Regions from separate parts of the Homo sapiens genome. Here all the other regions are linked to region 3. Evidence: promoter capture Hi-C in 16 types of primary human blood cells and fetal thymus (Javierre and others, 2016). All regions are on one chromosome and are shown on one strand. Each heading gives the region's core, a stretch centred on a gene start or on the middle of the fragment in contact. The rest is flanking DNA. Distances are from core to core; before and after follow the strand shown.

The links. Contacts are between HindIII fragments. The CHiCAGO score rates a contact against its expected background, and 5 or more counts as called.
Region 1: a fragment that was not itself captured here is called in contact with the fragment with the promoter of NSUN3 in region 3 in 1 of 17 cell types (total CD8 T cells); the score reaches 5.8 in total CD8 T cells.
Region 2: the fragment with the promoter of ZBTB11-AS1 here is called in contact with the fragment with the promoter of NSUN3 in region 3 in 2 of 17 cell types (non-activated CD4 T cells and naive CD8 T cells); the score reaches 5.4 in non-activated CD4 T cells.
Region 4: a contact is called between a fragment that was not itself captured here and the fragment with the promoter of NSUN3 in region 3, in 1 of 17 cell types (naive CD8 T cells). The highest score is 6.2, in naive CD8 T cells.
Region 5: a fragment that was not itself captured here is called in contact with the fragment with the promoter of NSUN3 in region 3 in 1 of 17 cell types (fetal thymus); the score reaches 5.8 in fetal thymus.
Region 6: a fragment that was not itself captured here is called in contact with the fragment with the promoter of NSUN3 in region 3 in 2 of 17 cell types (naive CD8 T cells and non-activated CD4 T cells); the score reaches 9.1 in naive CD8 T cells.

What each region holds. Positions count from the first base shown.
Region 1 is chr3:88,156,444-88,159,143 of GRCh38, forward strand. C3orf38 (chromosome 3 open reading frame 38) reads left to right here. Exons shown (of 3, transcript NM_173824.4): 3 at 1-1,522. The coding sequence ends at 192. Among named protein-coding and RNA genes, the nearest start is that of C3orf38, 7.8 kb to the left of the region's middle. The HindIII fragment of the contact is 1,968 bases long and covers 442-2,409 here.
Region 2 is chr3:101,674,879-101,677,747 of GRCh38, forward strand. ZBTB11-AS1 (ZBTB11 antisense RNA 1) reads left to right here and starts at 1,552. Exons shown (of 1, transcript NR_024407.1): 1 at 1,552-2,869. ZBTB11 (zinc finger and BTB domain containing 11) reads right to left here and starts at 2,254. Exons shown (of 11, transcript NM_014415.4): 1 at 1,727-2,254. The coding sequence starts at 2,036. It overlaps LOC124906262 (endogenous retrovirus group K member 5 Gag polyprotein), which reads left to right and starts at 1,567. Exons shown (of 3, transcript XM_047449415.1): 1 at 1,567-2,869. RefSeq lists a silencer at 1,306-1,675 and an enhancer at 1,392-1,946. The HindIII fragment of the contact is 10,842 bases long and covers 269-2,869 here.
Region 3 is chr3:94,061,642-94,064,341 of GRCh38, forward strand. It overlaps NSUN3 (NOP2/Sun RNA methyltransferase 3), which reads left to right and starts at 1,420. Exons shown (of 6, transcript NM_022072.5): 1 at 1,420-1,497. The coding sequence starts at 1,486. DHFR2 (dihydrofolate reductase 2) reads right to left here and starts at 1,275. Exons shown (of 2, transcript NM_176815.5): 1 at 1,105-1,275. RefSeq lists an enhancer at 1,314-1,553. The HindIII fragment of the contact is 2,538 bases long and covers 280-2,700 here.
Region 4 is chr3:100,404,554-100,407,287 of GRCh38, forward strand. The region is part of intron 1 of LNP1 (leukemia NUP98 fusion partner 1); the gene reads left to right. Among named protein-coding and RNA genes, the nearest start is that of LNP1, 4.4 kb to the left of the region's middle. The HindIII fragment of the contact is 5,109 bases long and covers 1-2,734 here.
Region 5 is chr3:101,515,503-101,518,239 of GRCh38, forward strand. No RefSeq gene overlaps it. Among named protein-coding and RNA genes, the nearest start is that of SENP7, 3.7 kb to the left of the region's middle. RefSeq lists an enhancer at 2,675-2,737. The HindIII fragment of the contact is 2,009 bases long and covers 484-2,492 here.
Region 6 is chr3:100,253,278-100,256,118 of GRCh38, forward strand. No RefSeq gene overlaps it. Among named protein-coding and RNA genes, the nearest start is that of TBC1D23, 6.3 kb to the right of the region's middle. The HindIII fragment of the contact is 4,896 bases long and covers 1-2,841 here.

The DNA.
Region 1 (2,700 bases), core at 176-2,675, 5.9 Mb before region 3:
AAAATCAAATTTATCAACCTGAAAATTATGGGAGAGAGTTCCCTTGCTCCTGGAACATTACCGAAACCATCTGTTAAATTTGAACAAAGTGATCTAGAGGCCTTTTATAATGTAATCACTGTATGTGGTACCAATGAAGTACGACATAATGTAAAGCAGGCTTCGGATAGTGGAACTGGGGACCAAGTTTGAGGTAGTGGAAATGAGACATTGCTGAACAAAAGAGAACTGGGTTTACCTGACCCTCTAAAGCGCTAAGTACTGTCAGCCTGAAAAAAATCTTCTATACAGAAACTCTTCCAAATACTATATCAGTAATGTCTGAATGATTTCAGATGTGAAAATTGACATATTTTAGTTGAAATACCTTTCTGGACTACAGACTTACATATCATGTGAATACTTACCTATTTCTACCCGAGTTGCAGCAAGTATTCTGAAAGCTTAATGCAAATAAATCCCACTTTAGATCTTACAGCTAACTGTGTGCCTTAGAAACCAGGTAATATTTTCCTTTTACTTAGTGAATATTCTGCTAATATCTGCACTTTTCATGTGGGAAAGGATTAATAATGGTCCAGGCTTCCCCTCTTTAAGTTTCATGTTTACTTTTGTCTAACTCTGGATAATTGTATTTTACAAATGCATCTCACTGTAGTATATTTTTAAAACTATTAAATATTTTAGAGATGTTTAACGTAAACTCAAAGTTCTCATTTTAGAAAATTTAAATAACATTCTTTTTGCAAAAAAGTCCAATAATTTAACAGTTGAAGAAAAACTTACTACCTCTTTAAAGATTTGAGAAACATTTTTCAAAGTTATCAGCTGTAGTCCAAGCTAAATATCTTTTGTAATCTGCAACATTTTCCTTACTGTTTTTGGGCAGTGATAAATGCTGTTCTCGAAATAGACTTTATTCTTACCTAGGCTTCAGACAACAGTTTTATAGAGCAGTTACTGTAATACAATATAAAGGAAATATGCTGTTGAAATTTTAAAGGTATGCCCAGTTCCTAACTTTTAAACGAATTACCGTTCTTCCTCTTGGCTGATCTTGGCAGAGATGACAAAAAAAACCCCAAAACAACCCATGCATGTATAATGTGTGTATACACATATACATAAGTATACATATACTCCCACATTATAACTTAGAATATTTAGTTTTTTACCTGTTACTAGGTTTGAGTTACATGGTTGAGTTGCCAAATTATTTACATGCTTTGTTTAAATTCTTCATCACCTAGCAACTGTTTGCTGATCATGGATTTACTTAGTTACTTTAATTTATAAAATTACCATTTGGAAAAGAACTCAATTGGGAAATGTGATGACGTATTGTACATGTTACTTTTTCCTTTGCTATAATCATCTAGGGAGACTGATAAGAATTTTGGAAATGGGAGCCTGGAAACTCATCTTTGTTTTTTTAATGCTATGCCTCTTACGAGGAATACGAATTGGTATGTCCTAAAATAAGAACTTAATAAAGGAGGGAAATCCCTTTTGTCTGCTATAAGAATAGTGTATCGTTCAGATTTAATTTATAGTTGTGTTGCTCTTAGAGTTTTAGGCATTTAACGAGAACAAAGAAAATTTTATAACTGCTAGTTACACTGTTATTGTAATATAATTAAGTATAAAGAAAATAGTGTGCAAAATAATTTCCTCTCATATTTTTATAAAGGTACACAATCAGGTCACAAGTCCATCTTTATCCATCCTATACCTCTGCTTGAGTTTTGAAAACTGGGTTACCTTTTATTTCTTAGTTTGAAGTTTGAAATATCATTATAAAGTGTAATAGGTAAACATCCTAAGTAAAGGATAAAATTAAAAACCATTCTTGTTACTAGAGATACTCAAAAAGGGCAGGGATTTCCTCTAGGTACCTTTAGTATTAAACTTTTGAGTTCGTGTAAAGCACAAATAAGGCTGCAATTTCTGCACATAGTTTTGAATCAACCTTAAAAATGTAAAATCTTTTTGATAGTCTTGAGATTCTTGAGGATTAATGCTATTTTATTTCATGTTTATTTCATGAATCCCTAGATATGGGCACACTACAGCCTAATATTGGAGTGAATGCATTAACGAATGAGCAAAAACAACTTATATACTGTGTACAAAAGGCTTTTCCGCTTCTAGAGTTTATCTTTGGTTCTTCTCATCAGTGTTACTTTTTCAGTCACATAGTTTCTTTGAATTTCATACTTGAATACGCAGAAACTTTTAGGCCCCCAAAATAACTCAGATTTGTGAGGAGAAAGATACTGACTTTAAAAGCCCAGGATCAGTAAGAGACCCTGAGATTCCTGAGGCTACCTGGAAAACATTACAGGGGAAGTGTATGAAGAAACAGTATTTGGAGGAGAAAGACCTAGAGGAACTGAAGTCTGTTAGTGAAGCTTGAAGCTTGATCAGCCTTTTGTGAGAACAGCCAAAAAGCACAGTGCCAGGATTGAACTCTACTTGTGCAGGATTGAACCCCATTAGTCTTTTTATGCCAGGGAATGGTGGAGAAAGAAACCAGCTGTAGTTCTCTGTTTTGATATACCCAACCGGTATTTGGAAAGTCTGGAGTCAGTTGTAAAGAAGAATACATTACAGATAATTCATCATAATTGGGTGGTCAAACTGGGGAGACCATCTGGACCTTTACTTTCTGTAGGCTAATTTGCCATAGCCTAATAACAG
Region 2 (2,869 bases), core at 302-2,801, 7.6 Mb after region 3:
AGTGTGAGATCACAAAGGTCAGCTGTGTGACTTTTGTTGTGTTATTTAACATCCTAGTGCTTTTAGTTTTTTCATCTGTAAAACAGATAGAGGCTGAAAAGGGAGGATCATCTGAGCCTAGGAGGTCGAGGCTACAGTGAGCTGTGATCGTTGTCACTGCACCAAGCAAGACCCCCTACGCTCTGTCTCCAAAAAAGGGAGATAAGTATTAAGGTTTTATGAAGGTTAAATAAATGTCAAGGGCTAACGACTACATCCTGCATATACAAGCTTGATCAATGTTACCTATAGTTACAATTATCATCTTTAACAAATCCTGAAGTATTAAATCTGAGACATTTGTTCAACAAACTAATGTCTACCCAAACCCATCCAAACAAAATGCACTGATTACTTCATTACCTCATAATTTAATCTTCGCATTTGTCTGTCCTTACAGGAATTTAATTCAGATATTGGTTTAAAGTGGAAAATAAATGGAAGAATTTGATTATCCAATAGTTCGTAAACGAATAAACTTGATGATGTTTATAAACCGAAAAGAACTTTAGAAACTATTCAGTAATTTCGTTATTCACAGACGAAGTAACCAAGATTTGAATGAAATAACTTTTCTGTAGCCATATTGGAGAGTGACAGCACTGTTCCTAACAAAATTTCTTAAATGGGACTATAAACTATTAACTAATTCTGACAGTTTGAATATTCATTAACTGTGGAGAGTGAAGATGGTTAAGAAGCCAAGGACACTTGCTATCCTCCCTTACAACTGGTTCCCAAGGAGTCAAGTAACTTCAGAGCTGTATTTTTTGACAATCAAAAAGTCACAGTAATCGTACCTTTTCTGCGTATATACAATGCTACACAGTTCCCAAACGCGTTTTTCACATCATTAGGGGAAAGATTATTAAAACATTCAGAGTTACGAATATCAAGCTGGGCGCCGTGGCTCATGCCTGAAATCCCAACACTTTGGGAGGCCGAGGCGGGAGGATGGCTTGAGGCCAGATGGAGACCAGCTTGGGGAACGAGGCGAGACCCGTGTCTACTCAAACACCCCGCCCCCGCAAAACCAAACAACAAAAACAGTAACTGATATCTTTTACATTTACTTCTTGTTCTTAAAAAAAAACGCTCAAGGCGATTTCTCAATCACTCCTTATCACTTCTGCAAATAATTGTATTATTCCTTATTTACGCAGCAGCGGCAAAATTTGAGGAACACTAGCGAATGTGTCCAGAGCAGCTCATACTCGCTCGCCAAAACCCAAGCGCAGCACTAAAGAAACGGGAGACCCGGCTTCGGGTGACTCGTCCCCCCTTCCAAACGTCAGCACAGTCGAAAACGTGCACCCCGCAGCCTCCACTGCCGCGAGCCACACGCCACCTCCAGAGGGCCGGGGCCTACAGCCTCAAGGGGCCGCCCAAGGAGGCGGACCTGGCGCAGCCCAGGCGTCCGGCCCCTCCCCGCGGCTGGCCCGGCCTCCGGGGAAGCCCCCTTGGTCCCACCCAGGGCCAGGGCCCGCCCCCAGCTTCGCCGGCCTCCTTCCTGTGGGAAGTGCGGCTCCTTTCGCGTCCCCCACCCTCTCGGCTCCGCCTGGCAGCAGCTCCGCCGCCCAGAGGCGTCCGAGACCCTCCGACTCGTGGGTACGCATAGGCCTCGCCAGCGAGCCTTGCCCAGGCAACGAGTCGCCAGCCCGCCCCCTCGCCGCGGGCTAGGTCTCACCTCGCCACCAGTACGTCTTGGACAAGTAGTGCCAGGTCTGATGCCGGGTGTGGTGAGTGCCGCCGGGACCCAGGTGCGCCGCCTCGATGAGGTCCCGGCGTCGCTCCGGCTGCAGCACCACCTCCAGCTCCGCGAAGGTCTTGCGGTGCCGCTGCCGCCGCTGGTAATACAGAGTCCCGCCGCGCACCACGTAGCAGGCGGCAGCTTTTCGGATTTTACGCTTGACATTGCCCTCGGTGCCCGGCGCATACGGCTCGCGCTCGTTCGTCAGGTAACGCAGGATGGCCCGGTAGCTTTCCTCGCTTGACATCGCGGACCGCGGCTCCCTGAGGGCGCCTGTCAGGGACAGGTGAGGAAAACGGCCCGCTACCTACGGGCGGCTGCAGGAGGAGCGGCGGCACCGTAGGGAGAAACGGCTGCGCCTTTGGCGAGCGCTCTTCGACGGCTCCCTTAGTCCGAAGGAAAAGCGGGCGAGTTGGTAACCAGGGGGAACTGCACTTCTCCAGCGCGCGGGATCCGCTGGCGACTGACAAAATGGCTGCTGCACCACCGGAAGTGACGCAAGGCAAGGGCGGGGACTGAGCCCTGATTGGAGCGCACTCTCGTTTTCTGGCTTGATGGAGCCGATCCAGTGACGTCAGGAATGCGGGTGGACATTTTGGAAGCGGGTAGGACCCTTCACTGCAGTTCGAGGGAGTCTTTAAGCAGACATCTTAAGTCCTGGCAGTTTCTCTTTTCATTTTTCCCTTTTCCACGCTTTCTAAGGAGCCACGTGTAGGGGGAGCTGGTGGACAGTTGAGAGTTCAGCCGAAACATCCAGAGGGTTAGGAGTCCGTTTTTACGTTTGAGACTCCCAACATCATAAAAGCATATTTTCAGGCTTCTGGAAAAATATTAGTCTCTTGACACGGGACCAGAGACAGCCCATTTACATGGAAATTTAGATTCCAGTTAACAGTTATAAAATTTTCAGTGCCTCCCTCAGTGATGAGTTATTGTTTCTAAACTTGCACCTGCTAGCTCCAGACTACTCAAGGAAGAGTCGAGATTCTTTTGGAATTATCAGCATTTATAGTCAATGTTATTGCGAGTGGAAAAGGGGGTCGGTAACACTATTTTAAGGCTTTATTTACATATATTTTT
Region 3 (2,700 bases), core at 170-2,669:
TTGCAACATTCTGGAATGAACATAGAAAAATAAATTATATAAAATATATTTATAAAGTATAAATTTATAAAATATTTATAAAATATAAATTTATAAAATTATAAAAAATACAGAGGCTGAAAGGTTAGACCGACTTTTCCACAAACATTAAACAGACGGCATCCAAGAGATGGCATCATTTCATTCCTGATTATCATAGTCTTTTGTACCAAATCTAAATTCTAATAAGATGCATTTTTTAGGTGACTTGGAAACTTGTTTAAATAAATAAATATATTAAGCTTCAAATCAGATTAGAAGGAAAGACATGTTTTTACATGAATATAAGACTTGTACCTATAGCATGTACGTATATTGATATGAGCATCAAGGAACAACTCAAAATGATGATTATTAACTATCAGGGACCATATCAAACCGGTTTTTTCTAATTGCTGATTGCTGCTACAAATGATAGTTACTGAAGCATGACACCAAAAGAGCAAATAAACTTCTATTCGTGTCAAAATAGGTGTAATAAACATCTTCCTTGGAGAACCATTAAACATTGCTCCCTTGTAAAGGTGAATTGGGGAGGCTAGAGTGGAGGGTCCTTTTGGTCTTCACGCATTTGGTATCAACGCGACAAAAATCACAATGATCACAATAGTGAAAATAATAGCAGCTAACATTTGGGCATTTACTGTTTCCTAATCACTGTTGTAACCGCTTTACATGCCTACTTCAGTTTAACACTCTCCATTAAAAGGAGAGATTATCCCCATGGGCCAGGTCTGGGGAAAAGCATGACTTAATTTCTTTTTCATTATATTCCACCCTTTTATCCTTGGGTACTGAATGTCTAGGTTAACAGGGGTCACTAGATTTGGTAGATTAAGTCAGTAACTAGCTTCGCTTTGAGAATATTTTAAATCAGTCATCATACAACATAACCCCAAAACTCATTCCTTTATTGAGCCCCATGCATATACACACTGTTCAGCACAATATGCGACTTTTTATTTATTTTTGAGACAAAGCCTCGCTCTGTCGCCCACGCTGCAGTGCAGTGGCGCGATCACGGGTCACTGCAACCTCAAACTTCTGCCCAAGCGATCCTCCCACCTCAGCATCCGCAGAAGCAGGGGCCGCACAGGCGCGCAGATGTGTGACTTTCTAAGGTCCGGCCGCCCAAAGCTACGCCGACCAATCCAAGTAGCGAAAGTCGCTTTGGCCCTGGCCCGTTACCTCCGCGTCCTGGGAAGTATCAGCCTTTACCAGCTACCGGAAGTAACTGCGCACGAAATCTCCCGCGGGAGCTAAGCCTCTTCGACAAGAATTCTATAGCGCGAGCAAATCAGTATCTCGCGAGAAATTGAAGAGGAAACGTGAGAATGAAAGTGGATGCCCGCGAATCCCGGAAGTCAGACTGTTTTTTTCAGTTCCCTGGAGGCTTTTTGATACTGATTCGCGTACACCTGTTGTTTGAAAGCTCTCAGCGGGACAATGCTGACCCAGGTGAGACCTGGGGCCCGGCTGGGTACCTCTATCTGAATGAGACGCTTCTGGACGCGGCCGAGGTGGCGAGGGAGGGTGCTGGGATGGGGGAACATCACCTTTGTTCGTCCCCTCGCGAGATCAGCGTTTCTTTGGCTTTACTGTCAAGCCCTGAAATAATGCTGAGTGCTGTAATGCTGAGTCCCTTCCGTCCAGCTCGCAGACTTCTAGTACCCACTCCCTCCAGCTCTTGGAGGGCTGAGATTTGTTTTCTGTGTCACAGCGGTATCCCGGGAGCTTAGAACAGTGTCTGTTACATAGTAGGCATTGAATACACGTTTCTTGGATGAATAAATGAAACAATTGCAAGGAAGTTCACGATGAAATTGGAGTGACTTTTCTCCCTAAATTAACTTTTCACTTTAAAATAACGTTGCAAAGATAGTACAGAGTTCTCAAATACCTTTCACCAATTTTTCTTGATGTCAGCATCCCCGGTGACTTTTTAGTTTTGTTTAGATACAAGTTCTTGCTCTGTCACCCAATCTGGAATGCAGCTGCTCCATCATAGCTCACTGTAACCTTGAACTCCTGGGTTCAAGCGATCCTCCAGCCTCAGCCTCCCTAGTAGCTAGGACTACAGGAGCAGGCCACTACGCCTGGCTAATTTTTTTTTTTTTTTTACTTTTTGTAGAGACACGTCCTTGATATGTTTTCCAGTCTGGTCTTGAACTGGGAAATGATCCTCTCGCCTCGTCCCTGCAAAGCATGAGCCAGCTGGAGTACAGTGGCGCGATCTCGGCTCACTGCAACCTCCACCTCCTGAGTTCAAGCGATTCTCCCACCTCAGCCCCCTGAGTAGGTGGGGTTACAGGCGCCCACCACTACTCTCGGCTAATTTTTGTATTTTTAGTAGAGACGGGTTTCCCGTGTTGGCCAACCTGGTCTTGAACTCCAGACCTCATGTGATCCTCCCGCCTCTGCCTCCCACAGTGCTGGGATTACAGGTGTGAGCCACCTGCCTAGCCCCTACAGTGACTTTTTAAAATTAATTTTGTTCCTTTTGACAGTTTCTTCAGCCCCAGTAGATTCTGTTTTAACCTTTGCTTCACATTTGGAAAATAATTATTTGGAAAAACCTTGCTTTTTCATAATTAGATAATGTACAGTTTTGGTACATGTAAGGTATTGCTTCCATTTCAAGAACTAGTAATTATCCAAAAA
Region 4 (2,734 bases), core at 139-2,638, 6.3 Mb after region 3:
GAATATGTCTTCTTCTTTATCTTCAATCTCTCCATTAGTAACCAAAGTAAATCTCATTGCTTCAGGTACCATTTCTGTGCAGATAATCACTGTCTATATATCTTTTGGCATAGCTTCCCTTTTTACCTCTAGCCCTATATTTCTTACTACTTACTGAGCAGTTTTGCTTGGATTCCTGACTTTTGTCAAAAATATAACTCATCATTTTCCCCACTCATTCTTTCTCTTTGTGTTATCCTTTTTTTTTTTTTTTTTCCAAGATGGAATTTCGCTCTGTTGCCCAGGCTGGAGTGCAGTGGTGTGATCTCGGCTTACTGCAACCTCTGCCTCCTGGGTTCAAGCGATTCTCTTGTCTCAGCCTCCCGAGTAGCTGGGACTACTGGCGCCCGCCACCACACCTGGATAATTTTTTGTATTTTTAGTAGAGACGGGGTTTCACCGTGTTAGCCAGGATGGTCTCGATCTTCTGACCTCGTGATCCGCCCGCCTCGGCCTCTCAAAGTGCTGGGATTACAGGCATGAGCTACTGTACCCAGCCTGTGTTATCCATTTTTTCTAATAATACCACTATTACCTTAGCAGTTACTCATATTTGAAACCATAGACCTTTTTAGACCTCTCTCTTTTTCATCCTTACCTACCCAAGCACAAATGATTATGCTGTTGTATTTATATACACACATAAACACAAAATCAGCTGTGAAGTCTTCAACAAATTCAACTTTGTTGTAATATCTTTCTTATAGTTTTTTCACCCATTCTGACACTTCTTAGTTCATATAAGTGAAAACTCCTAAGAGTATGTATAACACATAACAGATACTCAATAAATAGTTTCTTCCCATCTTAGTACAGGCTGCTATAACAAAAATATCATAAAACTACTTAGCTAATAAACTATAGAAATTTATTTCTCACAATTCCTGAGGATGGGGGTTTGAGATCAGTGTGCCAGCATGGTCAAATTCTGTAAGAGCCCTATTCTGGGTTGAGGACTGCAAATTTGGTTTGTGTCCTCAAATAGTGGAAAGGGGCAAGAAAGTTCTCTGGAGTCTCATTTTTATAGGGGCACTCATCCTATTTTTAAGGGCTCCATCCTCATGATCTAATCACTTCCCAAAGGCCTCAACTCCTAATACTATTACATTCCCCTCTTTTTTCTCTTTTATTCATTTCCTTCATCTTGCCTAAATCCTATATTTGCTTGCTTCCCAGATAATTTCTCTGCCTCTAGTGCCTCTCTTCTATGTGTCACCCTGCACCTTGATATCAATTTACTCTTCCTATAGCATAACTGTAATTTCACTCTTGAGCTGAAAGACTTTTAAATCCTCTTCACTTTCACTATAAAGTTCAACATTTCTGCCCACCCATGCCTCCCTTCATACACCTCTTCTCTTTCTTTGGTCTACGATATTAGCACCTAGCACTATTAGAAATTACCTATGTGGGCCGGGTGCAGTGGCTTGTGCCTGTAATCCCAACACTTTGGGAGGCCGAAGCGGGTGGATCACCTGAGGTCAGGAGTTCAAGATCAGGCTGACCAACATGGTGAAACCCTGTCTCTACTAAAAATACAAAAATTAGCCGGGCATGGTGGCACATGCCTGTAATCCCAGCTACTCAGGAGGCTGAGGCAGGAGAATCGCTTGAACCCCAGAGGCGGAGGTTGCAGTGAGCCGAGATTACCCTATTATACTCCAGCCTGGGTGACAGAGTGAGATGCCGCCTCAAGAAAAAAAAAACCTCTCAGGTGTACACTTGTCTGTGGGAAAAATAAAAAAATAGTGTGATCCCCTCAATAGGATGTAAGCCCCACGAGGACAGAAACTGTTCATTTTGTACAGCCAGAGCCCAGAATATAGGTGGTGTGATGGGTAATTTCATGTGTCAATTTGACTGGGCCATGGGATACCCAGATACTTGTTTAAACATTATAAATGTGTCTGTGGTGGTGTTTTTGATTGCTTGATTTTTATTTTTTTATTTTTATTTTTTGAGATGGAGTCTTGCTCTTGTTGCCCAGGCTGGAGTGCAATGGCATGATCTCGGCTCACTGCAACCTCCGCCTCCCGGGTTCAAGCGATTCTCCTGCCTCAGCCTCCCAAGTAGCTGGAATTACAGGTGCCCGCCACCATGCCTGGCTAATTTTTGTATTTTTAGTAGAGACGGGGTTTTGCCATGTTGGCCAGGCTGGTCTTAAACTCCTGGCCTCATGATCCGCCTGCCTCAGCCTCCCAAAGTGCTGGGATTACAGGCATGAGCCACTTCGCCTGGCTGATTTTTATTTTTAGTGTATCTATTGTCGGTTTTTGCTTCAAAAAACATAGATATTACAGGTTATTTTAGACTGATAACAAGTTAACTTTGATTATTTACACATACACATGCAAACTACACTTTAACTCCACTTCCTTTCCTCAATATTTTGTGCTTTCAATTTCACAATTTAAGTATTTTTATATTGCATATCCATCAACAAGTTGCTGTAGTTATTAATTTTAATACTTTTATCTTTTAGCCCTACTAAAGATACGTGATTTACACACCCTCATTACAGTATTTAAATGCTACCATTACAGTATCAGAGTATTATAAATTAAATTTAGCTATGTACGTATTTTTGCCAGGGAGTTTTATACTTTCAGATGTTTCTGTGTTTATCATTAGTGTCCTTTCAGCTTGAAGAACACCCTTTAGCATTTCTTGTAAGACAGGTCTGGTGGTGATGAAC
Region 5 (2,737 bases), core at 238-2,737, 7.5 Mb after region 3:
GGTGAACAGTGAGGAGGGACATTATGTACTTTCATCTTATTTTGAAATTTCTACAGATATAATTTCACAACCACTATTATTTTCTACAATTTACTAAATGGAATTGTAATACAGGCATTATTATTTTTCTAAAAAACTGCATAATTGCTTTCTGTGTTGGGAAAAGAAAAATAGTGCTGCTTTTGTACCAAAACAGTATTCTTTCTTTCAAACATATTTTCTAGAGGTTTTTTGTTTTGTTTTGCTTTCCTAAATATGAAAATAAATGAAAACTTACTCGTTGTAAAAAAAAAAAAGTATCATTAGATATTTTTAAATATTCTGAGTAAAAGTATTCTCCATTCTGTGCTTCTTAATGGCATGGTATATACAAAAGGACCTTGTTCCTAAATATAAAAAAGGATTATAATTACTGTATTAGATTATTACTCTGTAACCAGGGGATTTCCTAACTTCTCAGATTATAAAATTACTTCTTATAAAAGCTTACTAATCACCTGTGAAAAATGTAAATATTGTTAAATGTAACCACTTTTGATCCTAGAAAGGAAAGGGGTTCCTTAAAAATCCAAATACGCTAATTAAAGTTATTTGCATCTATGATTCTGGTGTCCCACCCACCCTCTTCTTTAAAGATAATCACACCTAACCTAGAGAAGTCAAATTCAGAGAGATCGAAAGTAGAATGGTGGTTGCTAGTGCCTAGGATGAGGAGAATGGGGAGTTATTGTTTAATGGGTATAGAGTTACAGTTTTGTAAGATGAAAAGCATTCTGTGGATGGATGTCAGTAATGGTTACACAACAATATGAATGTACGTAATGCCTCTGAACTGCACACTTAAAAATGGTTAGAATGGTAAATTTTGTTATGTATATTTTCACAATTGTTTTTTAAGAAATAACCACACCTAGAACAAGTCATTACAGCTGTGTCACCACCTAATCCAGGATACTGGAAAAGCCTAATTTCAAATTTTCTTTAATGCGTATATGCTGTTCTCCTTTTTTAAAATTTTATTCTGCGTAAAACGACTGGAGTACTTGACATAGGAAACAAAGTGCCTACCAAATGGCCTCACTAAATTTTTGGTAAATGAATGAAATAAAAAGTCAAATACTATGCATTTTTAAATCTTTGGTAAAAACTAATCTTGGAGTGGGAGGAGGGTGAGCGTTGTAAAACTACCTATCAGATACTATGCTCGCTACCTGGGTAATGAAATCATTTGTATACCAAACCCCAGTGACACAAAATTTACCCTTGTAACACATTTGCACATTCCCCCGACCCTAAAATAAAAGTCAAAAAAGGGGAAAAAAAATCTTCTCTCAGGCTCCTGGGCTGCCTCAGTTACTTTGGGCATGCCACTTTACCTTTGAAAGCCTCAACTTCTCCATTTATAAAATAAACATGTTAGCTAAGAATATCAATAAGGTCCCTTCTAGCTCTAACAATCTTATTCTTGAAGGTAAACTATTGAAGGAAACCAGAATGTCACCTCAAAATATGCCTTTTTTTTTTTTTCCCGGAGACTGAGTTTTGCTCTTATTGCCCAGGCTGGAGTGCAATAGCACGATCTCAGCTCACTGCAACCTCCGCCTCCCAGATTCAGGTGATTCTCCTGCCTCAGCCTCCCGAGTAGCTGAGATTACAGGCACCTGCCACCATGCCTGGCTAATTTTTGTATTTTTAGTAGAGACAAGGGTTCAGCATGTTGGCCAGGCTGGTCTCGAACCCCTGACCTCGTGATCCACCTGCCTCAGACTCCCAAAGTGCTGGGATTACAGGCGTGAGCCACTGTGCCAGGCCAAAATATACCTCTTTTATATAAAAATTATTTTTGAGCTGAAGGCAATTAAGGAGGGAAAGCTCGCTCTCTCCTTTTTCTGCCTAAAAGGCAGGACATAAATTCTGTCTAGGCTCTTACCAGCCCAGAAAGCCCCAGACGAATCTGCAAACAAACCTTACTGTATTAGTTTCCTTCTGTAGATTTACATTCCCACAGTTTCTCACCCTTGGAAGCCTAAAACTCTTTCCTTTGTTCTTTCTTCTCTCCAGAAATTTATTGTTCTTCGTTGAAGATACTTACATAAGCCAGAGTTGTAAGCCACTGTTTTGAGTTACTCCGCATTTACGTTTCTCTAAGGTGATATGCGCTGCATGCATTAATAAACTTCTTTGTTTTTCTGTTGTTACAAGGGTTCATTCCAACTAAGAACTCATGAGGGTTAAGGAAATAATTATTTTTCCTCCCCTACACTATCTTATTCTAATCCAGTCTTTGGAAAATTAAGCATAAAAATTGTTTGATTCTCTCCCTTTTTATTTTGATGAACCATGTTGAATTTGCTTGAGAGATGGTTTATCTTTATTTGCAAAAGACAAAGCATATATAAATTGATGGATGGAATATTCTTTAAGAATAATTAATAAACCTTTGACATTTATTAAGTTTAGAATTATAAAAGAAGTCTCTATAATTTTTCAAAAGCTTTGCATCTTTCTCTTATGTATTAATATATTGCTAGAGGACTTTTAAAGTGTGCTTTACTTCTTTATGTGCTTGGCAAAAAATTGTAAAATTCTAACAATATTTAAGTGCCTACTGTGCACCAGACGCTATTCCAAGAACTAGAGATACAGTAGTGAACAAAACAAAGTCCCTGTTCCTGCTGTCATAGAACTTACATTCTAATGGAGAGAAGTAGACAGTAAGCAAACATACGTCAGTTGG
Region 6 (2,841 bases), core at 135-2,634, 6.2 Mb after region 3:
AATGAACATCACTTAAAATGTCCCTGCTGTATTTTGGCTTTGGATCTTTCTATTCTTTTACCTGTGTATACATATATGTATGTATATTCATTCCCTTATCCTAACCTTAACACCACACCATGCCCCTAGGTCTGAAAGTCGTAATTATAATTCAACCCAGGAAATGTATGCAACTCGAAGGCTCCTATATTGACAGGTAATGAAGGCAGTCTTTATTAAAAGTCCACCTCTTACTCCCAAAATGAATTGGCAATATGAAACTTCTTAAATCTCTTCTTGGATCTTACAGGATTAGGCCCCAAATTTAGTTCTTCCATGTTTATTTTTGTTAATAAATCCTTAGGAGCAACTCCTGTGGCCCTTGCTTGAAGGAAAAGCACCTGACATGTGAATTGGATGACTTTTGACAACGGAAGACAGGGCCATCCTTGAGTATTGGATCATGGAGGCTCCCAATTCCCCTACCTGTGAGTTGAATTCGGAAGCCACATTGAGCAGAACTGAATTTCTGAAATGAATCTGAGTGAGAATAAACCTCCCTAGCAATGTCAGACACCAGGACAAACCAGGTTTGGGGAGCAAGTCTTTAAACAAGAACCATATCTGACTGACTCTATCCAGTGGGGACACATCCCAGGGCAGAATCCCATTTGCTTGAAGTCCAGTATTGGGATAGTGAATCTTTCTCCTCTTAAAAGTTACTGATGCAGTGGCATATGGCTGGCAGACTTCAGTACTTGCTAAAAGAATACCTCATGTGTTTATGTCACACAAACCAGTATGTCTGGACAATGTTACAAATGTAGCTAAGCCACAGAAATAGTTTTCTATACAATATTTTAAAATTTGAGATGGTAAAAGGATAGGAATATAAAACCAGAAGTACATAATACTTGAAAGCAGCTGGTAAAATACAACAGGTGTCCGCAGATTCAAAAGCTATTCTTGGTAAAAAGACTCCTAAACAGTCTTCCTAAAATTGCATTATTTTCTAAGCTGCCCCTGACAGATCCCAGGGTCGTTTAAGGGACATAAGGAGCTTGGCAGCCAACTTGCTCCAATGGCTCCCCACTGGAGTTACATGAGTGCCACCTAGTGACACTTGTTAAAGCTGAAGGGGGCCCGGATAGACCATCTAGCTCAATTTACCTCATCTGAGGAAACTGAGGCCCCGATATCAGAGATAACTTAAACAGGGCCACACATCTACCTGGCTAGTGGCTGAGCTAAGGCTAGGAATCAGGCGTCTTGCTTCATGGTTCCCTCAACTGGAGATAATCTCTGGAGTTTGGGAGTCGGGAGTCCTGCCTACTGCACTGTGCCAGAAAATAAAGCCTAAACCTTTCAGGGCCTCAGGTTACCCAGGCATTAAACTCATAAAATAGTATTTGTTTCAAGTCTTTGAGACACATGAGTGTCAGAGAACAGAACCTAAAAGTTGGTAAAAGTGCCCATAGGCATTTAGTCTGCTTTCCTCCACCGTGAGTGACTGCCCCTGAAACAGGTGTACAAGTAATCACATTATTTCCTACAACCAAGGTCCAAAGTCATCAACCTTAATTCAGGGGCAATGCATCAGTTATAGCCTTTTTAGCACCTTCTGCAGGTCTGACACCATCTTAGAGATCAGTTGTAATAAAAGTATCATTGGAACCACTCAAGTTTTGATTTCCAGAAGTCAGATGTTCTGCAGTTCTCCAGTTCGAGTTTCTATTTCAAGATTAGTCTAGGCCAGTGGTCCTCAATGCTGCCTGCACATTAGCACTGCCTAAGAAACTTTTAAAACTCACCTGTGCTTGTGTCTGACCCTAGACCAGCAGAATCAGAATTCCCGGGGGTGACGTTCCCACATCGTTTTATGTGTGTATGTTTTTAAGTTCCTTGGATTATTCCAATGCTAAGAGGATTGAAAAACATAGTGCTGGGCTGAGCTTGTGCTAAGAAAGAGAAAGAAGAGATAAATGTAGGAAAGGTGGGAGGTAGATAAGACCATTCCCTCTAAATCCTGGAACAGAACTTGGTCTGTACTCAAGTGCTCAATAAATGATTGCTGAAACTTGTCCAATGTGAGGTGGTATGATGAGAATGAAGGAGTTCACAATCTATTCATGATTTTAGGATTCTTTATAGCCTCACATAAGAAACATTTACAAAGAACCACAAGTAAACTTAAAAGTAGGAGAAGCCGGTAGACATGTCCATGTAGATCAAGAAGAAATGTTTTAAAACCTGAACACTATTCAAGTCTACATTACTCTCTGCTTTCCTTCTCCTTTCCCATTTTTAACTTCTTGATTCCTCCATTCAACTCACATATTATGTATCTACAGACACATATGATAAAGGGACCGGCTATATTCCAAAAGGCTTTGCTGTCATTCTCTGAGGAAGAGACAACTGAGCTGAGCACTGAAGTAAGAGTAGGAGGTAACTAGATGCTATGTGTACATATGTTGGGGCCCAAAGGTGTGCAGGGCTGGGTGATCTTTCAAGACAGAAGAGACAGCAAAGGCCACATGTTGGGAAAGAGTATGGCTTATTCAAAGAACACAGAGGAGACCAGTATAAGGGAAAGAAGAACATGGTGTGGAAAGGGACTGGAATGTCCAGGAGGGCCTTGTCCATTTGCTTTCATATACATACATACCATGTACCACCATACCATGTACATACCAAATAGGCTGAAGACAAATGGGCTTTCTCTCTGCTGACAGATTATCACAGAATGCTTTGAAAATATTAATACTTTTTAAAATAATAAATGCTTTGAAAATATTAATACTTTTTAAAATAATAATGTTTTTTATGGCAACATTATTGTTATAGTAATAATGGGTTGGA